Linked DNA regions of Homo sapiens: regions 2, 3, 4, 5, 6 and 7 are each linked to region 1. Evidence: promoter capture Hi-C in 16 types of primary human blood cells and fetal thymus (Javierre and others, 2016). All regions are on one chromosome and are shown on one strand. The core of a region is centred on a gene start or on the middle of the fragment in contact, and the rest is flanking DNA. Distances in the headings are between cores, read along the strand shown.

Region 1 (3,054 bases), core at 317-2,816:
AGGCACCCACCACCATGCCCACCTAATTTTTGTATTTTTGGTAGAGACGGGGTTTCACCATGTTGGCCAGGCTGGTCTCAAGCTCCTGACCTCATGTGATCTGCCCACCTTGGCCTCCTAAAACTAGGATTACAGGTGTGAGCCACCGCGCCCAGCCCCCTTGCTCAGCTTCTACTGGGTGTTCAATGATAGCTTAATGTCATTTGATTCTCAAATAAGCTTTTCCCCTAGTCTTTATCCTCCCTGCTTATACCTGAAAGGGCTTTTCTTCATGATGTTTCAAGTTTTCCTCTGTGTGTCTTTCCCCATCTTTTCTCCAACAATTTCTGGAGTAGTCCAATGAATTTGGGCTGCCAGGGTAGGTCCTAACATACATCTCTTCTGGAGATTTCTCTTTGGGAGACATTCGGGGGTCACACACCAGTAGCTTCAAGCATAGTGTTTTGGGCCAGGCATGGTGGCTCATGCCTGTAATCCCAGCATTTTGGGAGGCCAAGGCCAGTATGCACCTGTAGTCCCAGCTACTCGGACGCTGAGGCAAGAGAATCACTTGAACCTGGGAGGCAAAGACTCCAGTGAGCCGAGATCCAGCCATTGCACTCCAGCCTGGGCAACGAGAGCGAAACTCCATCACAAAAAAAAAAGTCTTTTGTTCTGCTGTCTATCTGTTGCCTTCAATACTACCTGGTATTTTGACATGACCCAGCATACATGCCGGACCAGGTTCTATGGGGGAATAGTGGCAGATCTGTCTCAATCACCATTAGCTGCCTGGTGGCCAAAATCGTGATGGGCGGAAACTTCTATTTTCTCTCTTTGTTACCCCTTCTCCCTGATTAGTTTCCCCCGTTCCCATCTCTCAAATGTCTTTGATCTTTACTGTGACTAATTAACTTCAATGTTCTTCTTATTCACATTTCAGGTGAACCCTCTGAATGTGAGTTGGTAAGTACCATCATGCACCTGTAACTTTTCTAGGACAGCTGTCACTGTTAGTAAGGCAGATAAATCAGGTGCTGATGGCATTGTTCCTTCTGGGATGGGATGAAAGCCAGTGATCTCGAGTCTAGGTAAGGTTGCTAGAGAAAATACCCAGTTGAGGCCGGGCCCGGTGGCTCACGCCTGTAATCCCAACACTTTGGGAGGCCGAGGCGGGCGGATCACAAGGTCAGGAGATCGAGACCATCCTGGCTAACACGGTGAAACCCCATCTGTACTAAAAATACAAAAAAAACTAGCTGGGCGTGGTGGCGGGCACCTGTAGTCCCAGCTACTCAAGAGGCTGAGGCAGGAGAATGGCGTGAACCCGGGAGGCGGAGCTTGCAGTGAGCCGAGATCGCACCATTGCACTTCAGCTTGGGGGACAGAGCGAGACTCCATCTCAAAAAACAAAACAACAACAAAAAAGTGTACTAACACAAGTAGCAGGAAGTACTGTGAAGCGAAAATACTCAAATGTGTAGGCAAGACAGTGAGAGGAGGTGATATTTATGGCTTATGATTTCAACTCTCTCCTTTTCTGCAGGTCACAAGTGTCCTGTGGATATAGGAGTCCTTTGCTGAAGTGAGAAACTGCATGTGTTGGGCAAGATGAACTTTTCTGTAATCACCTGCCCCAACGGTGGTACCAACCAAGGGCTTCTGCCTTACCTGATGGCCCTGGATCAGTATCAGCTGGAGGAATTCAAGCTTTGCTTGGAACCCCAGCAGCTGATGGACTTCTGGTCGGCCCCCCAGGGGCACTTCCCGCGTATCCCCTGGGCAAACTTGAGAGCTGCCGACCCTTTGAATCTGTCCTTTCTTTTGGATGAACACTTCCCAAAAGGTCAGGCATGGAAAGTGGTCCTCGGCATCTTCCAGACAATGAATCTGACCTCACTGTGTGAGAAAGTTAGAGCCGAGATGAAAGGTGAGAGTCCTCAAGAAGGAAGGCGGGAGGGCTGCTTGGTACTCCTGAGGCAAGGAGGTAGCCGCTGGGTTTTTGTGGGGTCATTCCACACTGCCGATCTCCCCCTACAAATCCTCCTTGATAATCTATGACAGTATGATGTTTAAAGGCATAAAGGCTATAAAGATTTAGTGCTCTAGCCTGGGAAGGAGTAGCAAAGGCAAGAAAGGGAATCGGAAGAGGCACATTCAGTTATGTTATAAGCCTTTTTCTTTCTTTCTTTCTTTCTTTTTTTTTTTTTTTTGAGCCTGAGTCTCCACTCTGTCGCCCAGGCTGGAGTGCAGTGGTGCGATCTGAGGTCACTGTAACCTCTGCCTCCCAGGTTGAAGCGATTCTCCTGCCTCAGCCTCCCAAGTAGCTGGGACTACAGGCGCCCGCCACCACACCCGGCTAATTTTTTTGTATTTTTAGTAGAGACGGGGTTTCACTGTGTTAGCCAGGATGGTCTCAATCTCCTGACCTCGTGATCTGCTCGCCTCGACCTCCCAAAGCACTGGGATTACAGGCGTGAGCCACCGCGCCCAGCCCAGGCTTCTTTTAAACATGCAAATTTGTCCCAGTGTGATTGTCGTACTGGGAACAATTTGAGTGCAGCACAGATTTCATGTTAGCTTATGCATGGTTTTGCCCAAGAGAAACACTAAGAAACCACAACAACCCCCGCCCTGCCCCCGCAACCCACCGACCCTGCACTCAGCCGAGCAGAGCCATGTAGGATTGTACACAATGCACACAGGCATGTACCTCAAACATCTACCCGCTTCCTCAGTACGAGCCTTGCCCATTCTACACTTTCTGTCTGATTTCAGATCATTGTTCTTTCACTTCACAAAAACTCACAAGCTGCGACACTTCCCATATTCACAAGCAAAGTTCATGTTTTACTCAGGGTAAAGTTTCATGCCACATCTTCTGTGGCATTGCAAGACCTGCTGAGGTGTTACAGGGCTGATTGTGGTGTTGTAGGATCGTGCAGTGTTTATTGTGGTAATAAAGTGTTTTGTAATTAATCAGCAAGTATAAAACCATGCTGTTTAAGCTTCTGGTTAAAATTTTATATATATATATATATATATATAATCACTGATTCTATCTCCTGTAAGCCG
Region 2 (3,054 bases), core at 362-2,861, 2.0 Mb after region 1:
GTGAAGGCCTGAGGCATCGAGTCAGGAAGACGTCGAAGGAGGCATGAGTGGAGGAAGAGGAAGTGGAGTCCACTAAAGGAAAAAGGAGGAAAGGACCAGGATGGGAGGTTGGAGGGCACCCTGGTGGGAGAGACATGGGTGGGGGCACTGATGGGAAGAGAAAGATGAACAGGAGGAGAAGCACAAGGCAGAAAAGAGAGAAAGTCATGAGTGAGGGCGAGTTAAGGCACGAAGTTTCAGGGGAGCAGCAGCCAAAGAGAAGGGGAAAGAGACAGACCGGAAGACTGGGCCGTGAAAGGGGGCGGGAGAGGCAGGGGACTTCAGAGGACTGGGGGGGAAATGTCGGGAGAGAGAAGATGTCACGGGGCACGAGGGAGAGGAAATGAAGGGGCAGGTGGAGCGGAGGAGCAGGGTCAAGATGAACTGACGGGAAAGAGGGAGAAAGAGGCTGCTGGGTGCAGTGGCTCATGCCCTTCATCCCAGCACTTTGGAGGCCAAGGCAGGAGGATCTCTTGAGCTCAGGAGCTCGAGACCAGCCTGGGCAACAGGAGACCTCATCTCTACAAATAATAAAAAAAATTAGCTGGGCACAGTGGCTCATGCCTGTGGTCCCAGCTACTCAGGAGGCAGAGGTGGGAGGATGGCTTGAGCCTAGGGATTCGAGGCTGCAGTGAGCTGTGATTGTGCCACCGTACTCCAGCCTGGGCGACAGAGTGAGACCTTGTCAAAAAAAAAAAAAAAAAGAGAAAAGGCACAGGGCAGAGTGGAAGAAATGAAACAGGAGGAGCCCCAGGTACTGGAGAGAGGGAAGATGCAGGGGTGTGATGGGGCAGCGCAGGAGACACGGACTAGGGAAAGATAGGATAAGGGGGTTCAGCGGAGAGGCAGAGGGGCTGCAGAGGGAGCATGCCGAGGAATTCCGCAGGGTGCCAGGACGCAGGGAGGAGTGGGAAGGAGGGGAGAGGAGGTCAGGGGCGCGAGTGGGAAGGCGCAGAAGCCCCTCTGGCAGAGGAGGAGGGGTGCCCAAGGGGGCCCCAGGATCAGGGACAGGCAGCCCCGGGAGGCTCAGGGTCTCTCGGAGGGGAGCGGCGGGGGCTGCGGGGAGGGCCGCCCGCACCCTACCTTCCAGGCAGCAGATCCTCCAGAGGCCCGAGTGCGTGAGGCCGCCGGGGTCCTTCTTCTCCGAGGCGCCGCCGCCCCCGCGGTGGGGGGTCCCGTCGTCGCCGCCGGCCGTGAGGTTGGTGGTGTTGCAGATGAGGGCGCGCGTGTAGAGCCAGTAGTCAGTGCTGATGGCGATGGTCATGAGGCCGAAGGCGGCGAAGGCGCCCACCGTCGTCAGCAGCACCTGCACCCCCTTCTCGCACCAGAGGCCCCGCTCTTCGTTCCAGCGCTTCAGCGACTCCAGTTTGACCACGGGCAGCCGGGGGGCCGTGGGCCACCACCGGGGCAGCGGGGGCGGGGCCGTGCCGGCGGCTGGGGGGGGGTTCACAGCGCAGGCAGAAGCGGGGGGCCCGGGGCCGGCGGGGCTGGGGAGGGGGGCGGCGAGGAGGAGGCTGCGGCCGGGGAGGGGGTCAGAGCGCGGCCATGGTCGGCGGCTGGTGGAGGGCAAGGAGCGAGATCTCGCATTAGAGGAGAAGAAGGCACAGGTACCTCCCCCAGTCCCCGCCCCCCCCCCCCCAAAATCCCTGCCTCAGCTCCAGAAACTCCTTCCACTCGGGGCTCCACTGCTTCTCTTTCTCAAAAATAATAATAATAATAATAATAATAATAATAATTAATAAATAAGATGAAATCTCTCTCCACTCTTGTCTTCTGCCCAAGAAAGTCATCCCACCATCCCACTAACCCCACTCGGAGGAGTCCCCACCACCGCTAATAATTAATAAATAAGATGAAATCTCTCTCCACTCCTGTCTTCTGCCCAAGAAAGTCGTCCCACCATCCCACTAACCCCACTCGGAGGAGTCCCCACCACCGCTAATAATTAATAAATAAGATGAAATCTCTCTCCACTCCTGTCTTCTGCCCAAGAAAGTCGTCCCACCATCCCACTAACCCCACTCGGAGGAGTCCCCACCACCGCTAATAATTAATAAATAAGATGAAATCTCTCTCCACTCCTGTCTTCTGCCCAAGAAAGTCGTCCCACCATCCCACTAACCCCACTCGGAGGAGTCCCCACCACCGCTCACACTCACAGCCCTCGCCCCTAGCCCGCGCCGCCTCCGCCCCAGGGGGCTCCACGATCCTCATCGCATGGGAAGCCACCCCCCGCCATGATGCCAAGCCCCACGCCGCCGCCTCCTCCCCAGGAGCCCCCGTCGCGTTCTTCCTTCCTTAGCGACCCCCGCCCCATCACCATGCGGCGCCCACCAGCTCTCCCCACTCTTCCCCTGCAAGCCCCACCTCTCCACCCGCTAGAACCCTTCCCTGTCAGCCCAACTTTTCCCTGAGCGTCTCCACAACTTAAGAAGCCCGAGTAGCACCACTTCCGTGGGAGTAACCTCCGCGAGCCCCCTCCGGTCTGGCTTTTGTCATTCCATCACTCCAAATGGTCCCCCACAGTTTCCTCTCCTTAGGAAAAAATAAATCTCTCAACCTCTCTTCAACTAAAAAGGAAAAATTAAAAGAAGAAGAAAAAGAAAAAGAAAATCCCAGCTGACCCTCACAGTTTGTGCAACTCGGAATCACCAGCCACCCTCAGTCAGCCTCCTCTCCCTGGAAGCCCCCTTCCTGCCTCGGGCAGCCTCCAACACACCTGGAAATCACCCGAGGACCTTAAAAATTCGGATGTTTGAGTCCCACCTGAGAAAGTCCGACATGGTTGGTCTGCAGTGTGGCCTGCGCATGTAAGTTTTTAAAAGCTCCCTGGGGAATTCTAATGCACCCAACATCAGACCCACTGGTTTGCAAGCTGCCCCCCCCCCGCCATCTCCAGCCCATTCCCTGTCACAGCCCCCACTGTCTCCCCACAAGCCACTCACTCCCCACCCCATACTATGCCTTTACTCCAGGAAAACCCCCACCCTCTCTTTTGCTTTAGAAGAGTTTTCT
Region 3 (3,054 bases), core at 101-2,600, 1.4 Mb after region 1:
CCCAACATCATCCCACCTGGAGCTGCCCTGAGACGCGGCTGCTCCCCACCTGCCTGGAGACTCAGGGAGACTCAGGGAACTCCAAGCAATTCTGTGAATTTCTCACCTGGGACCAGGAGCTCCAGGAGATCACTGGGTAGAGACCACACATAGGGAGAGTTCGAGTCATAAGCATAGCACCTGTACGACCACCTGCGACTCGGGCTCACGGGGCCCACGGAGAAGATGGCCCAGGACCACCCACGGGCATGGGAATGGGAGTTCAGGCGTTGTGGGTGTTCATCTTCTCCTTCCTTACACAGAATGAAGCCGTCAAATGCCACCTGTGAGACACACTGGAGGGTCACGTTCCCTCCTGAGGTCACCACAGGGCTGGGCAGAGCTGAGAGGGTGGGTTTGCTGTAGGCTCCTAGGAGAGAAGGAGGCACTGTGTTAAATGGGGCTCCCACCTCCCACATCATCCCCAGGGTTGAGCTGTGAGAGCGGAGATGCCCCTGAGAGCCGACCCCCTTCCTGAGGGCAGAGCCTGGGGCTGGGACTCCTGAGTGTCCTCTCACCTGTCACCACCAGCTCCAGGGGGTCACTGTACTCTGATGAGTGATTGTGGCTGTAGTACTGACAGTGATACCGCCCTGCGTGTTCCCAGGTGATGGATGGGATGGGGAACTGGCCATTCTTCCCAGGCTCTTGTATCCGTCTAACCCAGGATGCTGATTTGTTTTCCCTATATAGATGGTACTCCTCAGCCTGAAGGCTCCCCTGACACCTGAGGGTCACAGGACTTCCCTGGATGATCACAGAGCCTGGCTCAGCCCAGAGGGTGGGCTTGGGGAGGTGCCCTGGAAGGAAATCAGAGGTCGGATTCTAAGTCATTTCCCACCCAACAGATCTCAGCTCTCAGCTGCAGGACCCTCCAGACACCCCCATCAGTCAGCCCAGAACTGCTATTCCCCATCCCCAGCTGCACGGGGGTGGCCCCTTGTCCCTAGTGAGGAGGAGGGACCTGGGACAGCTGGGAACAGACTCACCTGCCTGCACGTGGGTCCTGGGGCCCAGACTCAGCCCTGGAAGAGAGTTCCCTGTGAGGGATTTTTCCCCTGAAGCCTGGGCAGGTCCTCCCCTCCCTGGGATCTTTGTGAGCCCCTGGGGTCTCCTTAGGGACCAGAGTTTGGCTGTGGGGTGAGGTCCCTCCTAGGTTAGAAGCTCCCCTCCCTCTTCAAATCTCACCGAGACAGATCAGGACCGTGAGGATGGGGGTCATGGCGTCTCCTCCCACTGCCCTGCTCTGCGGATGGATGAGCCCTCAGTGCTGGCAGGACAGAGAGACGCACAGGGTGTGGACACTCGGAGGCTGGATCCTTCTTGTCATGGGGTTTTGTTATGTGCAACCACACAGGAAGTGCAACTGCCCTCTCAGGAGCCTGGCTGTCATACCTTTAGGGCTGAGGTGGGGGCAGGCACCAGGCCCTCTGCAGACATTTCAGACTGTAATGGGGTCTTTCCTGCCCCCCAGCCACTGTCTGTCTGGTTTATCCTCATCTCCTTGAGACCTGGGATGTAGCAGCAAATAGAACTGGTGCCCTCCTGCGTCTGCCCTTCCAGATGAGGGTGAGCAGAGGCTTCCTCTTCCTTCTCAGAGCTTCCCCATGGGGTCTCCCTCCCTCCTTCAGCCCGTCCATCAGCTCAGCGTTGCGGGGTCCTTACCATGGCGGTCGTCCCTCCAGCCCTGGAGATGCTTCAGGGAAAACCCAGGTCCATGCTGCAGTTAGACTCAGATCAGCAGAGACGCACCTGACACCTGGCTGTGTAGCTCAGGTTGAGCTGCGTGTGGCAGTGAGCACAGAGGAGTAATGCAGGGTCTACCATGGTGGCTCATGCCTGGAATCCCAGCACTTCAGGAGGCTGAGGTGGGTGAAGGCTAGAGGCCAGGAGCTTCAGATTACCCTGGGCCACATAGCAAGACCTTGTCTGTATAAAAAAAGCAAAAAATTAGCCAGGCATGGCAGCTCACATCTCTAGTCCCAGCTACTCAGGAGGCTGAGGTGGGAGGAATACTTCGGCCTGGGAGGCGGAGGCTGCAGGGAGCTATGATCACCCCTTAGCATTCCAGCCTCAGTGACAGAGTGAGACCCTGTCTCAAAAGGGGAAATGCAGGGATTAACTATAATAAAACATATTTGTTCTGTCTTGAGAGTGTGTGTTTCCTTCCTACCAAACCGTCCCTCTCCTGTACTTCCCCTTTTCTCTTTGTTGCAACATCACCCACCCCCACCCCGGGAATGAGGCTCTGAGTCGGTCCCGCCCCCTCAGTGTCCCTTGCGTCCTTGGCCTTCCCTCGGCACCTCCGTCCATGTTCAGAGTTTTCAGAAGAATTTGTTAGGTCTGTAATCTGATTCTGGGGAAGGTGAGCTGATTTGTATTTAATTCCTGATTATCATCCAGGGTTTATGTGACTTTGGACATGAATGTCACCTCTGAGCCTGCTGTCGTGAACCCCACTCATCACAGTGGCTGTGGGGGTCAGTGGTGCCCAGGACATGGGAGGCTCAGCCATGGTGAATTTCCAGACCAGTTCAGACAGGAGGGTGGGGACGGGAGAGGATCCTGGTGCTGGGCTCCACAGTCCAGGAGGATGATTGACGCCCCCACTCAAGAGCCCACATCGGCTCCAAATACCATGAAATTCTCCTTGTGATACATCTGAAATATGCAGATCATCACAGCCACGGGCACAGAAAGAGGAAGAACAGTTCCTCACATTGAGACGCATCCCCTTCCATGAGCAGAGTTCAATGCTGAGTGGCCACAGGTGTCTGGGACCACCCAGGGTCATTAGGGAGGAGGAGGCTCCCACCTCCGTGTGGGACAGAAGAGGAACCCCACGTCCTCCCAGGCAGGGAGGGGTCAGGGCTCTGGGTGACGCTGGAAGCTGTGGCTCCCCCTCCCCTGTGTGTGTGGACAGGCGCTGGGGGGTCTCTGCTCACTCACTGGAGGCCATGGTCAGTGCTCAGCCCCTCCCCTGTGTGTGAGAAACAGATTCAATCCACGGTGGTC
Region 4 (3,054 bases), core at 162-2,661, 1.3 Mb after region 1:
GGGTACTTTGATATTAGATACGAGGGTGGGGTCTTGTCAGCTGCATCCTCCTCAGATAGAAGGAAAGTGTCTGTCCACCCAGCTTTGCATCTGACACAGCAGGGCCATGTTCTCTCCTGAGACCACAGTGGGGCCTGGTTGCACCAAGAGGGAGGCTGTCTCACGGATCTGTCCTGGAGAGAAGAAGGATGGGTGAGGAGCCGCCCCACCTTGTTCTGAGCTGAGACTTCCCCAGGCCTCTCTCTGGGACCCTCAGTATCTCTGTCTCTGTTTTCTCTGAGTTTCCCCGTCCCCGCCCAATCCATCCTCTCTCTCTCTCTGCCTCTCCCTCCCTTGAGACCCCCACCCCTCATCCCAACCATCACCACCTAGGCTCCCCTGGCAGGGCCTGTACAGAGCCTGGGTCCCTAACTGAACCCGCTGGGCTTCTCACCTGCGATCAGGATGTCCAGGGGGGTCACTGGGGGCTGACCACCTAGAGGAGAGGTTGTGTCCACTGAACATCTGTACTGGCCCCCATGGGAGATGCTCACAGGGCCTAAGGGGAAGTCATCTTGGGAGAACTTCTGGCCAGAACTCTGGGGAAGGTGATGTATCTTTTTCTTGGACAGAGAGAATATTTTGCAGCCAACATCAGAGCAACACAGGAGGGTCAACCTCTCTCCATGGGCCATGACAGGACCCTGTGGAGTCAAATGGGAGGGCTCCCTAGGCACACCTGGAGTGTGCGAGGAGCTGGGACTCAGAGGGCTGGTTCCTTCCAAGCCTCTTCTTTCACCAGGTTGCCTCCAGGTATGGTCAGAATCTAGTGAGCTGCTGGAGCTCTTGGTCTCAGGTGCTAAAGTCTGCTAAACCAGACTGGTAAACCTCCACCTGTGGCTAGAAGTCATGGGGTCTGCCAGGATCAGGGCTTGGAACTGTCCATCGGACTGTTTTTCGGGGTCCAGGAGACAGAATAGCTTGTGTTCACCTTCCACGGTCAGAATGAACCTGTCAAATCCCAGCCGTGAAGGACATAATGGTGTCACCTTACCTCCTGAGGTCAGGACAGGGCTGGGCTGAGCTGAGAGGGTGGATTTGCTGTAGAATCCTAGGACAGAAGGAAGCACCATGTTAAATGGGGCTCACACCTTCCACATCATACCCCAGGGCTGGGCTGTGAGAAGGGAGACACCCCCTGAGAGCTGAACCCCTTCCTGAATGCAGTGCCTGGGGCTGGGATCCCTGAGTGTCCTCTCATCTGTCACCACCAGTTCCAGGCGGTCACTGGGTTCTGACAAGCCTGCAGGGCTGAGAAAGTGACAGCGATATCACTGTGCATAGTGCAGAAATGCAGGGAAATAGGGGAAGAAAACATAACTCCTCCACTGACCCTGGGTCGTGGGTATTCTTTCTACCAAACAATTCTCTGCTTGGGCTTCCCTTTTTTTGTTACTATTTTCTAACAGTCTCCTCCACATCTCCCTGGATACAGCACTTGATTCATTTCTGCCTCCTCAGTGCCCCTTGTCTAGTTCTCAGAACCTTCCTCCTCCTCTTTCCATGGTCCTGCCCTGAAGCCTTAGGGACATTGGGTGGGTTAGCACTCCAACTTTGAAAGGAAAGCTAATCTTTATTTAAATAATCATCTGTCATCCACTGTCTGTGGCCAGGACTTAGCAGCAAATACATCTGGTGCCTTCCTCAGTTGGACCCTTTCCAATGAGGCTGACTGAGGGCTGAGCACACAAGTGCATGAGAAGTGCTAATAGTTCAGCCAGAGTGCAATTAGAACCTGCCCTTTCTGTAGGAGGAGGATGGAAGAATCCTTGCTCAAAAGTATATGCTCTCACTTCTTCTATTCAGCATAGTAATAGAAGTCCTAGACACAGCAATTAGGCAATAAAAATACACAAAAGCACCCAAATCAGATAAAAAGTGATATTGTCTCTGTTTGCTGACATGATTTTATATATAAAAATCTCTAAAGACTCAACCAAACAACTTTTAGAACTGATCCACGAATTTAGTAGAGTTGCAGGATACAAAATCAACATGCAGAAATTGGTAGCATCTCTATATACTAAAAACAAACTATCCAGAAAGAAATCGAAAGAAAAATTACACTTATAATAGCTAAAAAATTACTTAGAATTAAATTTAACCAAGGAGGTTTAATATCTCTGCACTAAAATCTTTATAACATTGATGAATGAAATTGAACAAGACGCATATAAATGGGAAGGTAGCTTATGTTCATGGTCTGCAAGAATTAACATTGTTAAAATGTTCGTATAACAATGAGAACACATGGACACAGGGAGGGGAACAACACACACTGGGGCTTGTAGTGGGAGGGCGGATGATGAAGGGAGGGAGAGCATCAGGAAAAAGAGCTAATGCATGCTGGGCTTAATAACTAGGTAATGGGTTGATAGGTGCAGCAAACCACCATGGCACAAGCCTACCTATGTAACAAAGCTGCAGGTCCTGTACATGTGCCCTGGAACTTTAAAAAAAAGTTCATACCTGCAGACTCAATGCAATTCCTAACAAAATTCCAAGGTCGTTTTCCACAGAAATAGAAAAACAATCCTAAAATTTGAATGGGACTACAAAAGGACCCCAAATAGCCAAAACAATCTTGAGCAAAGGGAAGAAGGGGATATCACACTATGGAATCCCCAAATATCCTACAAAGCTACAGCCAGGAAGACATCATGGAACTGGAATAGAAACAGGTACAGTGATCAGTGCAACAGGGATGAAAGCAAAGAAGGAAACACACATATTTATGGTGAATTGATCCTCAACAAAGTTTCCAAGAACAAGAGAGGGCAGTCCTTTTGAATAAATGGTCCTAGGAGAACTGAGTCTCCATGGAGTGTGGAGGTCTGGGTCCTCCCTGGGCTAGTGGATGGCCAGAGCAGTATACACACTCGGCTCAGCTGAACGTCCCCTTTCCTGGGAGGAAGAAGGCTTCATTATTTTCTGTTTGAGGGTAAGCTGTGCAGCTGGGCATAGGACACATCCTGGGGATATTCATATGAAGAAGAATGAAATTGAACCCTTATC
Region 5 (3,054 bases), core at 264-2,763, 1.2 Mb after region 1:
AAGTAGGATGAGAGTAGAATTCTATTACACTTACGTAATGCCATGCAGTGAAAAATTATTATTTCTAGCCACATTCAATTCGAAAAAAATTTTAATTTCCTAAAATTTAGACATTTTCCAAAGAATATAAATTAGAAACTATCAAAACATAGTTTTTATTTTTGCATTTTTTACTTGTTTAATAATTAACAAGTTGTTAAATTACAAAGTAAAATAATTGGTGTTAAAAATTGAGAAATATTAGATTCTTGGAAATTACAGATTAGTTCAGAGAAATAGATACTTTAAAAACTCAAAGCCATTTCTTGGTGGATACACAATAATCCATAACAGTTTGGCCCAAGTGTTGTAGAGGATGGGGAGAAAAATAAGAGAATAAGAAAAGAATATGAATTTCATATATGGTGTGCACATGAACCTGTTGAAAAATTTTCTTGGAAAGAAAATATTTTATAACAACAACTAGAATATATTTAGCAAATTTGTATCAGAGATCAACAAACCAACAAACACAAGTTAGAGAAAGGGGCATGTTGCCCATTAAGTCATAGAGAAAACATACAAATACATTTAAATTATACCAAATAAATCATGTAAGCAGGAGTGAGAATGACACAATTATGGTAAATAATGGAGACGAGAAAATACCTGTGAGTCCTAGACCCGTTGTGATTACGGGCCCCATATGTCCTTCAGTAACTACAATCATTTATGAAAAAGTAAATACTGGTCTTTGTTTCTTTTATCGAATTCTTTGTTTTTCTTATGGAAACACAATTAGGAAATAATGAGGCTATATTTTACTTTCTGGGATGGTGACAGGAAATTCCTCACCTCACGCTCCCGTGGCTAGGATCTCAGCTGTCAGAACAGACCAAGCGTTCACCACTTAGGGGCTGAGAGGAGGAACAGTTTCAGAAAGCTTTGGCTTCAGAACCCAGTGAATCTGGAGCAGATGAAAAGGTTTCGGAACTCTGAAAGCGCTTTTAAATACGGTTAAGGATCAGAGTTGCATTTATTAGACATGAACACCCATATAGTCCCTGATTATTCCTGCTCTCTAAGCCTTGACAATTCTTAGTCACGTTTTGTAAAAGTGAGATTTATATTTTTCTAAATGAAAGATATAATTTACCTTCTTCACGCCGATCTGAGAAATTGTCTATAGACATATATTACTGGTGAAATCAAGTGCATTCGGCTCCCCGGAACCCATAAGAAAGGAGATGAAAGTGTACCGTTTTGCAATCATCACAGAAGGTTTTCAGAGACGTACAGCCATTGCCAACCAAAGTGCAGCATGCAGCCACCAGAGATATTTCAAATGTCCTAAGTACCAGTTGCCATTAGACAACAGGTGTGTGAACAGGAGCCAAGACCTGAACACACTCTTACCCCTCGTACAAAGAGGAGAGCTAAGACTATGAGGTTTGGTATATTTATTCAGACAGAGTCTTTCAGATGGGGCTATGACAGAGAAGGTAAACAGGAGATGCCAGGCAGCCCTGAGTGGGAAGGCTGGGGTGGTTCTGTGTCTCAGGAACTCTCAGAAAATACCCCTGCCCCATGTTTCTTTTCCATGTTCAGTTTTGACCTTAGGGGAAATAGACCGGGATGTTTACACCATATATATATATATATATATATATATATATATATATATATACACACACACATATATGTTGCAACAAATATTCTACATCTCTAAGAATATGGCTCTCTAACTGAAAGAAGGTCCACTTACCAAATGCAGTTTCTTGCTGGGAAAGCAACTGCCATAGTCACAGTCTAAGCACCTCCACAAAAGGGGGCATCTTAACCCTGAGATAAAGGCTTAAGACTACCATGAGATCCTTTTCTTGCCGGGAAGTGATTATCATTTCATCTGCAAGTACAGTGACAGTGTTTGCATAGGGATTTCAGTTGATCTAGAAAAACATCCGTGAAATGTTCAAATTACTGAAAGCTATTCGTAGCTATTAGTTTTAGTCGACTGAGAAAGTTGGAGCAAGAAAGAGAGAGATGGAAAGAAACAGAACAATAGAGAGACAGAGACAGGAAGAGACAGAGAAACTTAGAGAGGAAATCATATCTGGGAAGCTTGAAGTAGACTAGGTAGAGACGGCATTGCAGCCAAGGACATTGAGATCTAACTGAGAGAAGGAAAGTAAGGATAAGGCTGGGGTTTGTTTCTTGCCAACCTTAAGGTTTTGCCTCCCCCAAGAATATTTTTCCATTCTGAGGACTTTGCACTAAAGGCAGCCTGGAAGGGAGAAAAAAAGAGAGAATCAAGTAGAAATCATTTGCTCCAGTGTTAAAAATAAACTTGGAAGAAGTGGAGACACTTTTATTCACTGTTTTCATGGGCACACATTAAGTATCTAATGGGTCAAACGTGATTCTTGGTGTATAAGATGTATCAGAAAAAAGACAGAAAGACTTCTAAAAAAGTGTCTGTATTGAATCAATATTATAGTTGAGAAAGATGGATATTAGACAACAACAAAAATTAATAGAAAATCCAATATGTTATAGGATGATACATGTCTTGTGAGCAAAATAACAATAAAGTAATAGCAGAGAGCTCCCCTGAGCAAGAAGAAATTCTTCCAGCAGATTGTCTTTGGATTTTTTAGTTTGCTACAACTCTTTCCTGAGTCTCCAGGATACTCTACTGTCCTGCAGATTTTGGACTCACCAAGCTCCTACAATCACATGAGCCAATTCCTAGGTAAATGAATAGATAAACAAATAAATAGATAGATAGATAAATAGATAGATACATAGATACATGGATAGATACATAGATAGATACATAGATACACAGATAGACACATAAATAAACATTCTGCTGGTTCAATTTCTCTGGAGAACCCTTGAAAAAAAAATCATTTTGGTTCCAGGGATGATTCCAAAGGAACAGAATTTTTAAGGATGAGTTTTCTGAATTGGATCCAAAGTTTCTGAAATCGGCTTTCTAATTTGATTAGATTTAAAAACACTAATGACTCCATTTCCAGTAGTGTTGATAGTGCATAACATGATGTGGCCATA
Region 6 (3,054 bases), core at 381-2,880, 1.1 Mb after region 1:
TTTCATCACAATTATTCGGGATGGACGAGTGGATATTGTGGTAGCAAGAACATTACTAAAAGTCACAGCTGATACAACACACTTGAAACCCATCTGGCCAATCTCCCACAGACAGAATGTCGCGCCATTCACTCCAGCCAGCTTCAGTCATGTTTCTTCCATTTCCACCTGTGGCCCCTCATGTCTCCACCAGGTCTTAGCCAGCATTGCCAAAAGAGCCAGGAAGACCAGACCAGCCACAACAATCCTGATGGAACTCTCCACAGTATAGTTCTGGAGAACAGGGGCTGGAGGGTGGGGGTAAGATCAGAGACCTTTCCATGTGGGCCAGGCCCCTCTCTCCCCAGAAGCTCTGAAATGGAGCTATTTCCCCATCTCACCTTCATAAAATTCTTCCTGTCCAGAACCCCTCTTCTCCCTATATCATCATGAGCACCTTCAGAAGTCTTTTGCCACAAAAAGAAATTTCTTTTGAAGATATACATTTTTTTGTACATTTCAAAAATGTTCCCAAACTAATTCTCCAAAGCAATAAATGTTTGTGTGTATTGCTGGGTAGGTTATGTATACAAGGAAAGGAAGCATAGTGAGTCTGATTTGGCAGAGGAAACATATGTGGAAATTATATCATTTACTCTCTTTACAAAATTAAGTACAAAATTGAAAACACTGGTAAGAAAGAATGAGCTATAGAGAAAGAAAACATCTGAGATGCTTGTTTCCAAGATGGCTGACTAAATGCTTTTCTGGCATGTCTCATCCACTTAGAAGAACGAGCAGAATCCAGAACAAAAACCATATGATCATCTCAATAGACATAAAGAAAAGCATCTGAAAAGAAATTCAACATCCTTACCTGATGAAAACCCTCAAAAACTTAGGCATAGAAAGAACATACCTCAAAATAATAAAAGCCATAGATGACATATCTAGAGTCAACATCATACTGAACAGGAAAAGTTAAAAGCACTCCTCTGAGAACTGGCACAAGACAAGGACACGGACATCCACCACTTCCTATCAACATAGTACTGGAAGCCTTGTCAGAGCTATTGGGCAACAGGAAGAATTAAAAATCCAAATTAGAAAAGAGGAAGTAAAATTATTTTTATTTCTGATGCTATGATCTTAAATCTAGAAAATCCTAAAGACCCTGCCAAAAATTCTTATGATTGATAAATGAACTAAGTAAAGTTTCAGAATACAAAATCAATATGTAAAAGCCGGTAGCATTTCTCTACACCTATAATGATCTAGCTGAGAACCAAATCAAGAAGGCAATGCCGTTTACAATAGATACGCAAAATTAAAACACTCAGGAATACATTTAACCAAGGTGGTGAAAGATCTGTACCAGGAAAGGTGTAAGACACCAATGAAAGCAATTATAGATAATACAAAAAAAAAAAAAGAAAAAAAATCCCACGCTCATGGATCATAAGAATTAATATTGTTAAAATGACCATACTGCCTAAAGCAATCTACAGATTCAGTGCAATTCTTATATGAAAATAGTAACACCAGTTTTCACAGAATTAGAAAAAGCAATCCTAAAATTCATACAGAACCAAAAAAGATCCTAATAGAGAAAGCAATTCTAGGTGAATGTAGAAACCTGGAGGCATCACGCTATCTGACTTCAAACTATGCTCTAAGGCTATAGTAACTTAAATAGCACAGTGCTGGTATAGACACAGAAACAGAGATCAATAGACCAGAATAGAGAGCCCAGAAATACAGCCTCATATCTACAGTGAATAATCATTGACGACGTTAACAAAACATACACTGGAGAAAGATTTCCTTTTCAATAAAAGGTGCTGGGAAAACTAAATAGCCATATGCAGAAGAATAAAACTGGACCTGTATCTGTAATCATACACATAAATTAACTTAAGGTAATTAGCAGCTTAAATGTAAATCCAGAACTATAAAATCACCGGTGGAAACCCAAAGAGAAACTCTTCTGGGCATTGGTCTGGGCAAAGAATTCATCACTAAGACCTCAAAAGCACAGGCAATAAAAATAAAACTAGACCAATGGGACTTAATAAACGAAAGAGCTTCTGCCAAGCAAAGGAAATAGTAGCAGGGTGAACAGACAACCCACAGAATGAATGGAAATGTTTGCAAACTATGCACCCAACAGAGGACTAACATCCAGAATTTCTAGGCAACTCAAACAACTAAACATAACCCCTCAAATAATAGCATTAAAAAGTGGGCAAAGGGATATACATAGACATTTTTCAAAAGAAGACATACGAATGGCCAAACAGCGTATGAACATCACTAATCATCAGAGAAATGCAAATTGAAACCACAATGAGATATCATCTTACAGTAGTCAGAATGGCTATTACTAAAAATGCTGGTGGGGAGTGGTGGCTCACGCTTGTAATCCCAGCACTTTGGGAAGCTGAGGCGGGTGGATCATGAGGTCAGGAGTTTGAGACCAGCCTGACCAACATAGTGAAACCCCATCTCTACTAAATATACAAAAGATTAGCTGGGCATGGTGGTGTGGTTCTGTAATCCCAGCTACTCAGGAGGCTGAGGCAGGAGAATCATTTGAACCTGGTTGGTGGAGGTTGCAGCGCGTGGAGATGGCGGCACTGCACTCCAGCCTGGGTGACAGTGGAAGACTCCATCTCAAAAAGAAAAAAAGAAAAAGTGAAACATATAACAGGTGTTGGCAAGGATGCAGAGAAAAGGAAACTCTTATACACTGTTGGCCGGTATGTAAATTAGTATAGCCTCTATGGAAGACAGTATGGAAATTTGGCAGAGAACCAAAAATAGAAGCACCATTCGATCTAGGGGTCCCGCTGCTGGGTATCTACTCAAAAAATACCTGCACCTGTATGTTTATTGCAGCACTGTTTGCAATAGCAAAGATATGAAATCAATCTAAGTGTCTGTGAATGAATGATTGGATTAAAAAAAGGATGCGTGTATACACAACGAAATACTATTTGGTCATAAAAATAAAACCATGTCTTTTGCAGCAACATAGATGGAGCTGGACGCCATTATTTTACATAAAACCACTCA
Region 7 (3,054 bases), core at 304-2,803, 1.1 Mb after region 1:
ACCTAGACAGGGATCTGATGTTTTCCAAGATGACACATGATTACATGTTGAAATGATAATATTTTGAGTCTACTTGTATAATAAAATAATATTTTGGATCTATTAGGTTAATATTTTGGGTCTGTTGGGTTAATAATATTTTGGGTCCATTGGGTTAACTTAAATTAATTTTATCTGTTTCTTGTTAGCTTTTTAATTTGGATACTAGCAAGTTTGAAAGAATGCATGTGGTTTGCATTATGTTTCTATAGGACAGAACTTACCTGTAGATGTAAGGGAGTCACAACAAAATTACAAGCATTGTTTTTGGTGGAAATGAGAAAAATGATTACAAATTTACATGGAAAAGCAAATAGCCAATAATAATAATAATGGCAATCTTAAAGAGGAAGGAGAAATTAGAGGATTCAGGCTGCCAAATTTTAAGGGGTTCTATAAGGCCACATAAAGTGCAGCATCCTCATGAGAGTGGACACAGAGAGCCACTGAGCAGAAAAGAGTGTGTAAAATACATCTGTGTACACACAGTCCTTTTATAGTTGACAGAGGCTGCCATGCGGATTAAGGTGGAATAGAATGTCTTCTCAGTAAATAACATTGGACCAGAGGGTTACAAGCAGGAAAAAATAAATCTAAGCTTATTTTCACACCATAAAAACACTGCTAATTTTTTATCTTATTATCATACATTTTGATGATTTATTTATAAAATTGATGAATGAAAATTATATACAGTTGTCCTTCACTATTCATGGGTGATTGGTTCCAGGAAACCCCCCTCCCTACCAGACACCAAAATCTGCAGATGCTCAAGCCTGTTGCATGAAATGGCACAGCGTTTGCATATAACCCATGCACATCCTCCTGTATACATGAAATCATCTCTAGATTACTTATAATTCCTGATACAGCCTACACACCACCTCACTTGTGTCCACACAATATAGTATTTTTGCTTTTTGGAACTTTGTGGATTTTTTCTCTGAATATTTTTGATTTATATTTGGTTCAATAAACACCTGTAAACCCCACAGATATGGAGGAGCGACTGTATATTTATAGTATGAAAGATGATGTGTTGACATGTGTCCCTGTGGAGATGAGACTAACAAGGCCTATGACTCTACAAATGTTTCATCTTGGAATGACTCTGCCAGCTTTCCAGGTCTGCAGAGAGTAAGAATATCACTTGTTCATGTGATTCACGATCCTTGGAACCTCCTATGTGCTGCATCTTTGGATGGAAATTGGAGTCCCAGAGACAAATGAGGCTCCACCCTGCTTCCAGAAGCTCAGAGTCCAGGGCTGAGAACCCAGTAGAGAACATATCAGGTTATATGGACATAGTAATGATAACACTGGAAACTTTTGGCGAATAAAGAGTCACATTATCGAAACCATGAGGGCAGACATGTTTATTTGAAGAGGAGAGAGCTACACTGAAGTTATAAAAAAAATTTATAAATTTTACTGATGACAGAAGGCTGAAAGATAGTCTGAGGGGAGGTGGAACAGCATGAGGGAAGGTGGAACAGCAAGTGTGTAAGTGCCGTGTTAAGAGGGAGCCTCTTGTATGTTTGGAATTGTGAGTTCCTCAGTGTGATTGCAGCCTCAAGTAGGACTAGGAAGTAAGCCAGTTAGGTTGGAGAGGTGGGCAGGGGTCAAGTGAAATAGATACTTGTGGGCTAAGCAAAGGAGTGTGTTTTCTCTGCAGCAGGCAGTGGCGACCTTAGGCATTTGTAAGCAAGAGAGAGGCATGTTCAGATTCGTGGTGTGAGGAAGAGCGATCCCCTAAGATGCAGACTGATGCCTTCAGATTCCAGCTGCTGGTTCATTGGATCTGGCAACCTGGTTTTGAGACAGGGCTGTTGTCTCCCTAGAAAACCCCCTCAAGACCTGACTGTGGTGCTCGTGGGCAGGAGACAACTTTGGATCTGGGCTCAGCATTTGGAAGTTCCGTGTACACGCTGGTATCTGTTAGGGGTGTCTTGGGCCTCTGAGAAGGGCGACTGATTTTTCTCTGTATGAAAACGCAGTGATCCAACTGTGCGTACGTCACCTCCTGAGGGTCTTGTTCATCAGAGTCCTGGAGAGAGGGAAATGCTGAGTGAGGGAGGGTGCTCACATTTTTCAGGACTATTAGGGATAAGACTGTATCCGTGAGGCTGGGCCGAGGAGGACCTACCTGCCTATTCACTGTTCTGTCCCCCGCAGGCTCTTGGTCCATTACAGCAGCATCTGTAGGAGACGGAAGTCATCAAAACCGCTTGGAGGGCCCTTCTGGGTCCTCATTTCATGGGCAGACACCAACCCACAGGGGGAGGCTGTAGGTGCCTGAGGCTCTTCAGCTGCCAACATCCAGACTCAGACATTCTATCTCTCTGAGTTCAAGACCCCATCCCATGAAGTGCTCTCAATTGGCATCCCATTGATTCTGTCTCCCACTTTCTGCCTGTCATGGAAGCTTCTGGATGTCAGTAGCTGCAGGGGATGTGAGGATACAGTTCAGAACCAGGCAATGGTCTGTGAGCTGAAGGCAGGGGCAGGTTGTCTGGTGCTCTCTCTAGAAAGCCCTGCCTCTGTGGCTCCTCCCTTGGGCCAGGGACCATCCTGCCAGTGAGGAACACACACCCGCGTGCTCCCATCCTGCTTCCCCACATGGCCCTGAGCTCTCTGGCCTCTGCTTCGTGAGACTTACTCTTTTTGTTGGAGCACCAGCGATAAAGGAGAAAGAAGAGGAGGAGGATGAAGAGGAAGATGACCACTGAGGTCCCAATCAGAACATGCAGGTGTCTGCAGATACCTGGAGGAAGATGGGAATCCAATAAGAAGCTAATCATAGCAGTTCCTCTTTATGGATTGTCTCATTTCTTGATTGACAGGTAACCACATGGAACATCTCCTTAGGACAAGCAGCCTGATGGCGGGAGACCCAGCTTTCTCCTGCTTTCTCAGTTACAGCTCTCATAGAAACCATAGAACATGCTGAGGATACAGCTGCTTTAGTTTAGATGTTTGACCCTTTGAAACCTCACACTGAAATATTGAAATTTA

The links. The method cuts DNA at HindIII sites, captures the fragments that hold promoters and counts their contacts. A CHiCAGO score of 5 or more calls a contact.
Region 2: the fragment with the promoter of CACNG8 here is called in contact with the fragment with the promoter of NLRP13 in region 1 in 1 of 17 cell types (total B cells); the score reaches 7.5 in total B cells.
Region 3: the fragment with the promoter of LILRA2 here is called in contact with the fragment with the promoter of NLRP13 in region 1 in 4 of 17 cell types (naive CD8 T cells, naive CD4 T cells, activated CD4 T cells and 1 more); the score reaches 11.6 in naive CD8 T cells.
Region 4: a fragment that was not itself captured here is called in contact with the fragment with the promoter of NLRP13 in region 1 in 1 of 17 cell types (naive CD8 T cells); the score reaches 5.8 in naive CD8 T cells.
Region 5: a contact is called between a fragment that was not itself captured here and the fragment with the promoter of NLRP13 in region 1, in 1 of 17 cell types (activated CD4 T cells). The highest score is 5.1, in activated CD4 T cells.
Region 6: a fragment that was not itself captured here is called in contact with the fragment with the promoter of NLRP13 in region 1 in 3 of 17 cell types (naive CD8 T cells, activated CD4 T cells and non-activated CD4 T cells); the score reaches 6.3 in naive CD8 T cells.
Region 7: a fragment that was not itself captured here is called in contact with the fragment with the promoter of NLRP13 in region 1 in 1 of 17 cell types (activated CD4 T cells); the score reaches 7.8 in activated CD4 T cells.

The regions. Positions count from the first base shown.
Region 1 is chr19:55,930,848-55,933,901 of GRCh38, reverse strand. It overlaps NLRP13 (NLR family pyrin domain containing 13), which reads left to right and starts at 1,566. Exons shown (of 11, transcript NM_176810.2): 1 at 1,566-1,909. The coding sequence starts at 1,591. The HindIII fragment of the contact is 1,470 bases long and covers 222-1,691 here.
Region 2 is chr19:53,961,494-53,964,547 of GRCh38, reverse strand. It overlaps CACNG8 (calcium voltage-gated channel auxiliary subunit gamma 8), which reads right to left and starts at 1,611. Exons shown (of 4, transcript NM_031895.6): 1 at 1,123-1,611. The coding sequence starts at 1,405. RefSeq lists an enhancer at 2,250-2,770. The HindIII fragment of the contact is 5,876 bases long and covers 1-3,054 here.
Region 3 is chr19:54,572,086-54,575,139 of GRCh38, reverse strand. It overlaps LILRA2 (leukocyte immunoglobulin like receptor A2), which reads right to left and starts at 1,350. Exons shown (of 8, transcript NM_001130917.3): 1 at 1,228-1,350; 2 at 1,029-1,064; 3 at 558-839; 4 at 107-409. The coding sequence starts at 1,261. LOC107985347 (a long non-coding RNA gene) reads left to right here and starts at 2,312. Exons shown (of 2, transcript XR_002958419.2): 1 at 2,312-2,404. The HindIII fragment of the contact is 11,294 bases long and covers 1-3,054 here.
Region 4 is chr19:54,669,467-54,672,520 of GRCh38, reverse strand. No RefSeq gene overlaps it. Among named protein-coding and RNA genes, the nearest start is that of LILRB4, 8.0 kb to the right of the region's middle. The HindIII fragment of the contact is 3,346 bases long and covers 1-3,054 here.
Region 5 is chr19:54,686,672-54,689,725 of GRCh38, reverse strand. No RefSeq gene overlaps it. Among named protein-coding and RNA genes, the nearest start is that of LILRB4, 25 kb to the right of the region's middle. The HindIII fragment of the contact is 1,178 bases long and covers 925-2,102 here.
Region 6 is chr19:54,793,927-54,796,980 of GRCh38, reverse strand. No RefSeq gene overlaps it. Among named protein-coding and RNA genes, the nearest start is that of KIR2DL4, 8.2 kb to the left of the region's middle. The HindIII fragment of the contact is 4,657 bases long and covers 1-3,054 here.
Region 7 is chr19:54,865,554-54,868,607 of GRCh38, reverse strand. It overlaps KIR3DL2 (killer cell immunoglobulin like receptor, three Ig domains and long cytoplasmic tail 2), which reads right to left. Exons shown (of 9, transcript NM_006737.4): 7 at 2,699-2,803; 8 at 2,186-2,238; 9 at 1,401-2,086. The coding sequence ends at 1,877. Among named protein-coding and RNA genes, the nearest start is that of FCAR, 7.2 kb to the left of the region's middle. The HindIII fragment of the contact is 1,827 bases long and covers 640-2,466 here.